Linked DNA regions of Homo sapiens: region 2 is linked to region 1. The links are contacts of gene promoters, found by promoter capture Hi-C in blood cells and fetal thymus (Javierre and others, 2016). All regions are on one chromosome and are shown on one strand. The core of a region is centred on a gene start or on the middle of the fragment in contact, and the rest is flanking DNA. Distances in the headings are between cores, read along the strand shown.

Region 1 (3,441 bases), core at 1-2,500:
CCCGACGTGGTGACACGTGCCTGAAGTCCCAGCTACTCGGGAAGCTGAGGCAGGAGAATCGCTTGAACCTGGGAGGCGGAGGTTGCAGTGAGCCAAGATCGCGCCACTGCACTCCAGCCTGGGCATCAGAGCGAGACTCCTTCTCAAAAAAAAAAAAAAAAAAAAAAAAGAGGGAACGAAGGTTATCTGAGCTGCAGCGATCCAGGCAGGGAAGAGGTCAGGACCCCACTGTCCTGTCTCCCAGGCAGGCTGAAAAGCTTGGAGCTCAGGCCCCAGGCGCACAGGTGTAAGACAGGGATCTGGAGCCACAGACCTGGCTCCGGGCTCAGCTCTGCCACTTAAGTCTCTGGGGAAATAAGTAAAATGGAGACCGCAGTTCCTGCCTTTGCCCCAGGGACTCTCTCTCTCCCCCGCACCTTCAACCCCAGCTGCCCAAAACTCCTCGTGGGAACAGGAAGAGAGGTCTCAAACCGAACCAAGCTGGGGCGCGGAACCCAGGTGGGAGAGACAAAAGAGCCCCCAACTCAGCACCCTTCTCAGTCCAGGGGAGAGGGCTTGGGGGACTCTGTGCTCCCCGGAATGTTAAGGAGCAAAGCCCACCCACCAAGTTGACCCAAAACTAGGCTGCAACAAGTGCCTCCCAGGCTCGGTCTCCCACTGGCTGGGACTTGAAGACTCCCTCTCGCTCCCAGGGGTCGCCTCCCTCGCCGGCGAAGGCCCTGCCAGCTGACACCGGCCGGCCCACCCCCATCCCGCAATTAGGCGGGAGACAAAATGACATCATGCACGGCTTGGCCCGGGTCCCAAGAGACCCGCCCGTCCCAGCTCCGAGGCCCAACAGGCCTGGGGAGCCGCGAGGGACGCCCAAGAGCCCCCCAGCTTTACGCGCGCCCCTGCCTCAGAGGGCCCAGGACGCAGCATTTCCGCGGAAACACCCCACCCCCAACACACACACACACCCCAGCTTGGTGGGAGCCTGGGGAGGGTCGGGGGTATCTGGGTGGGGGAGGGGTGAGTTAAAGGGAGGGGGAGGGGCCCAAGCCCTCCCGGCTCGTCTCACCAGCGCGTCCGCCGAGACATCCCCCCGGCCCGGACCGCGCCGCGCTCGCCCGCCCGCCGGCAGAGCCCGGAGCGGGAGCCGGGCCGGGGTCAGGACCCGGGCTGCTCCGGCCGCTCCGGGCCCCGGGCCGCGCTCGAAGGCGTCAGCGTGTCAGCAGGTCCCGCGCTCCTCGCTCGCAGGAACTGCAGTCGCCGCCGGCGCGGGTTGAAGCACTTTTCTATCTCCCGCCAAGCGCGTCGGCGCCGCCCAGTCCTGGCGCGCGGGCGCCGGGGGAGGGGCCTGAGTGAGGGGCGGAGCCAGGGGGCGGGGCGGGGCGGGGCCTGCGGGGCGGCACCTGCCCAGACCCTCCAGGGCCGGCTGCAGGACAGGGGCGGCGGCCGCTACTTCGGAGTTGTGGAGCGGGCCGGGATGTGACCGAGGCCTGGCTCACGTGTCAGTCCGGGGCGGCCCAGGAGTATCCCACATAGCGAAGACCGAGGAAGGGGAGCGAGGCGCGAGCATGGGAGAGCCAGCCAGGGAAAGCGCCAGGGCGGAATCCCCCACGCTAGTCCAAGCCACTACTGGGTCCCTAGAGCCGCACCCTAAAGCGGCTCCTCACCCTACCTGTGCCTCTCCCTGCTTCCTCTCCTGCCTCCAAGAGACCCTCCTTAATAGACTTTATTTTTTGTTGTTCATTTTTCTTAGAGGCAGGGTCTTGCTCTGTCGCCCAGGCTGGAGTGCAGTTTCGCGATCATAGCTCACTGCAACCTCCACCTCCTAGGCTCAAGCGATCCTCCTACCTCAACTCACGGGTAGCTAAGACCAGGCACTCGCCACTACACCCGGCTGATTTTTTTTTTTTTTTTTTTTGAGACGGTGTCTCGCTTTGTCGCCAGGCTGGAGTGCAGTGGCGCGATCTTGACTCACTGCAACCTCCACCTCCCGGGTTCAAGCGACTCCCCCGCCTCAGCCTCCCAAGTAGCTGGAACTACAGGCGCACACCACCACGCCCGGCAATTTTTTTTTTTTTTTTTTTTTTTTTTTAGTATTTTAGTAGAGACGAGGTTTCACCATGTTGGCCAGGATGGTATAGGTCTCCTGACCTCGTGATCCGCCCGCCTCGGCCTCCCAAAGTGCTGGAATTACAGGAGTGAGCCACTGCGCTTTTTTTTTTTTTTTTAAGAGAAGGGGGTGTCTTGCTATGTTGCTGTTGCCTAGACTGGTCTAGAAACTCCTGGGCTCAAGAGATCCTGCCGCTTTGTCCTCCCAAAGTGCTGGGATTGCAGGCGTGAGCTCTTTCCAGAATTTAAAACCATCCTCCTCTCCCTCAGGGTAAATTCCTTACTCCACAATCACATTTATCTGATCTTCCAGACCACCACCCAGCCCTGGCCAAAAGAAACGGCCTCTTTGCCTTTGCCTGAGCCATTACCCAGGGCAGGAACACTTCCTGCCCCTCCCACGTGGCTGATTCCTATTTAATTTGGGGTCCACTGCCCACAATCTGCCTGTAGACTTCTGCATTTCCCCCTTTGAACTGGGAGCATCCTGAGGTCCAGGTGGCCTCTCAATGCACACCAGTATCTCCAGGGCCCAGTAGAAGACCTGACATAAGAAGCCCCAGGCAAAGGTTTGTTGCATTGAATTGTTTACCTTGGGTTTAAACTCCCAGAGATTAGCCCAGATTTAGTGGCTCATGCCAGTAATCCTAGCAGTTTGGGAGGCCGAGGTGGGAGAACTGATTCAGTCCAAAAGTTTGAGACCAGCCTGGGGATCAGAGTGAGACCCTGTCTTTACAAAAAATTAAGAAATTACCTGGCTGTGGTGGTGAATGCCTGTAATCCCAGCTACTTGGGAAGCAGAGGCAGGAGGATTGCTTGAGCCCAGGAGTTCGAGGGGCTCAAGCCCTTGTCATCCCGCCACTGCACTCCAGCCTGGGCGACAGACAGTGAGACTGTCTTTCCTTGAGATTTAGCAAAGGTTTTCTATATTAGATTGACATTTACCAAGTACCAAGGATCAAGTCACACTGGACTTCCTGGGAGCAGTGCTGAGAGGAAGATAAATGAGCTCTGAGACAGGACGCTGAAGAAACCAAATCAAACCCCAGCCTTTTAGCCCCTGTTCAGGCCTCAGAGCCCCCTTCCAGAAGCTGCTGGCCACCTGGGGACAGTCCAGCCACCAGCTGCTGCAAACTTCACTTACCACAGAAGGAAGACTAACTCACATCTTAAGTGCTAGAAGCTTCCACATCACTTAATTCAGGGTTTCTCCCGCCCACTCCCCTTATAAAGTAATTAATGTGGACATGCCCACTTCATTGAAAGCACAGCCTCCACAGCCAAACTTCCTGGGGTTTGAGTCCCAGCTCCACCATTCAGTTGCGGTATCTTAGGCAAATT
Region 2 (3,136 bases), core at 179-2,678, 530 kb before region 1:
TTAGCCAGGATGGTCTCAATCTCCTGACCTCGTGATCCACCTGCCTCGGCCTCCCAAAGTGCTGGGATTACAGGCGTGAGCCACCGCGCCTGGCTATTTAAATATTTTATAAATAGTTATCTTACATAGTGTGTCCAGTAATTCCCAGTATCTGAAAACCTCAGGGGTTGTAAATATTGTTAGTTTTTTGGTTTTGATTGATTGGCTGTTACCAATGATAGAAATGAATCAGAAATCTATTTAATAGTAATGGCATAATGGTCATTTGTAACGTTAGCCTCACAGTGGTTCTGAAGCTGCTATATTCAGGTTTAGGGCACAATATTTAGGCTTCACAGGATCGGTTTCAGTTGTATGTTTGAGGTGCTTCCCTCAGACCCACTGGTCAAAGGCTCCCAAGCTTAGAGTTGGAACAGGGCAGGTGTTCTGTCCCAAATGTTTGGCCCAGGTGATTCAGTTAAAAAATACCATTATCTCACCTCGTTCTATAGCTTGCTAATAAGATGATGTTGAAGTTGTTGAGACACAAAGACTTAGGCAGCATGAAAATGGAGGAAGGTGCATCTCTTGCAGGAAATTTATGAGCTTAGACTCATAAAGCTGAGGGAAGGTAAATTTCCTACTGTCATAAAGAATCTGTTTAGGACAGCTCCATATCCCAACATCTTCTTGTATATTTTTTTTCCTCTTTAGGTCTACAAGGAAGTCTTCACGAGGAGCAGTGAGAACTCAGCGTCGTCGACGTTCTAAGTCTCCTGTCCTTCATCCTCCAAAGTTTATACATTGCAGTACAATAGCGTCTTCTTCCAGCAGTCAACTCAAGCACAAAAGCCAGACTGACTCACCTGATGGCAGCAGTGGGCTGGGAATTTCATCCCCTAAAGAGTTCAGTGCAGGAGAAAGCTCTACTTCTCTCGATGCTAATCACACAGGGGCAGTCGTTGAGCCTTTGAGAACTTCTGTTCCAAGGCTCCCATCAGAGAGTAAGAAGGAAGACTCCTCTGACGCTACCCAAGTCCCCCAAGCAAGTCTCAAAGCCAGTGATCTCTCTGACTTTCAATCAGTTTCCAAGCTAAACCAGGGCAAGCCATGCACATGCATAGGCAAGGAATGCCAGTGTAAGAGATGGCATGATATGGAAGTGTATTCCTTTTCAGGCCTGCAGAGTGTCCCTCCCTTGGCTCCAGAACGAAGATCCACACTTGAGGACTACTCTCAGTCGCTGCACGCCAGAACTCTGTCTGGCTCTCCCCGATCCTGTTCTGAGCAAGCTCGAGTCTTCGTGGATGATGTGACCATTGAGGACCTGTCAGGCTACATGGAGTATTACTTGTATATTCCCAAGAAAATGTCCCACATGGCAGAAATGATGTACACCTGATAGCAAGAAGCTAATTCATATGCTTTAAACCAATGAAGGCTTGTCAAAGAGATTTAGTTAATGGCAGACCTTGTGGCCACTTTGTGTGAGAAGACATCTCTTTCTGCTCACTGTGCTTGCAATAAAAACTTTTCTTGGCATCTCAGTTAATCTTCATTCTTTCAACTTACTCTCTTGAGTTCTTACATACACTTCAAGGCGAGCAGATCAAAGAAAAATCCCCCTTATTTAGAAATGTTCCTGGGGGATGAAGAAACCATAATTACTTGAGACTGGCAGCAGTGGGTATATGGTAAAAGCCTTTGTAAAACAGTGCATTTTTCAGATTTGTTTAAGGTTTGCTAGCCAAGGAAAGTAAAATGTGATTTTGTAACTGCACTAAACATTTGTCATGCTGTAGTTGCCAGCCCAGAATATTAGAAGTTACAAGACTGATTTAAACCGTCTCTGATTTAATGCAAGATATATTGTGTCTATAAAGGTTTCTCTTGTTATTGTTAAGCCAGAGATCTAAGGTTTAGATTCAATTTGAATAAACTAGCTGGCCTGCCCTCTATTGTTTGAGAGAGTTATTAACCATCACTAAATAAGCCCCTGCTGGTGCTATTCATCCTAAGACATGTTACATGCAGTTTCAAGTAAGCAGCTTGGAATGGGCTGCTTCAGTTGGAGGGAGGGGGTGTAATATTTGAAACGAGTGTGTGTCTTCACCATCTCCAGCATTTTAAATATATGGCGGTTTTTTTTTTTTTTTTTTGTTATCAGTTGTAATACAGGTCTCATACCTCAGTTTCAGATGTTATAGATGGTTACCTCTTTGAGCTGCCCTGTCACCCCAGCAACCCTAAAAGAGAATTTTGTACATTCTGTATCCCACAGATTTGGTCAGCCATTTCAAAATTCCCTCCAGTTTGGTAAAAAAAAAATCTGTCTTCGGTTTCAGCTGGATGATGAATCCTTGTTTTTCAGGTGGCTCCAAAAAGAATGTTGCATGTGTTCAGACCATCCTGAGCAGAGCCACCAAATTTAGTGACAGTGTCTAGCCATGTTAGCAATAATGTTAACAGAAGCTTTTGTTTAAATTACAAAATACATTTATACTATTTACTAAAACTGCGCTGGCTGTGGTTGATTCATGATAATGGGATGTGGGCTTCAACAAATAGGTGATTTGTACTTGGGGGAGAGGGGAAGGGTGTTTACTAGAAAAACCCTAAGCTTAAGTAGTAGTGGGAGTCCTCTGCTGGTCATTGGTTTGGTGTGGATTTAGTGACATCTGAAGGCTGTGGTTAAAGCAAGGGAGCAAAATACCTTATCACAGTTCTAGAAGCTGTGACAGATATTTCCTGATAATGGTGACAGAAGGTACACTATTTAGTATATCTAAGGCAGAAATTCTCAAACTTTTTGTAAGCACTTCCTTTACACTGACAAATTCAGGACCCAAAAGGTTTTGTTATAATCTCCAAAAGGATATAAATATTTACCATGTTAGAAATTAAAACTAAGATTTTTTTAAATATTTAAAAACTCATTACAAGCTAACAAAATTTTTGAATGAAAAATAGCTTTTCCAAAACAAAAAATAGAAGAGTGGCATTGTTCTACCTTTTTGCAAATCTTTTTTAATGTTTGGCTTAATTAGAAGACAGATTCTCATATGTTTCTGCATTCAGTCTCTGGGATATCGCATATTGTGTGGTCTCTGGCAAACTTTTGTACACTTGGGAGAATGAATGTGAAAAAGGCAACTAC

The links. The method cuts DNA at HindIII sites, captures the fragments that hold promoters and counts their contacts. A CHiCAGO score of 5 or more calls a contact.
Region 2: a fragment that was not itself captured here is called in contact with the fragment with the promoter of MYBL2 in region 1 in 4 of 17 cell types (monocytes, M0 macrophages, naive CD4 T cells and 1 more); the score reaches 6.2 in monocytes.

What each region holds. Positions count from the first base shown.
Region 1 is chr20:43,664,923-43,668,363 of GRCh38, reverse strand. It overlaps MYBL2 (MYB proto-oncogene like 2), which reads right to left and starts at 1,250. Exons shown (of 14, transcript NM_002466.4): 1 at 1,061-1,250. The coding sequence starts at 1,080. RefSeq lists enhancers at 345-394, 1,161-1,455 and silencers at 1,045-1,424, 1,161-1,455. The HindIII fragment of the contact is 3,026 bases long and covers 260-3,285 here.
Region 2 is chr20:44,195,297-44,198,432 of GRCh38, reverse strand. It overlaps OSER1 (oxidative stress responsive serine rich 1), which reads left to right. Exons shown (of 4, transcript NM_016470.8): 4 at 694-2,494. The coding sequence ends at 1,381. Among named protein-coding and RNA genes, the nearest start is that of JPH2, 9.7 kb to the right of the region's middle. The HindIII fragment of the contact is 2,051 bases long and covers 403-2,453 here.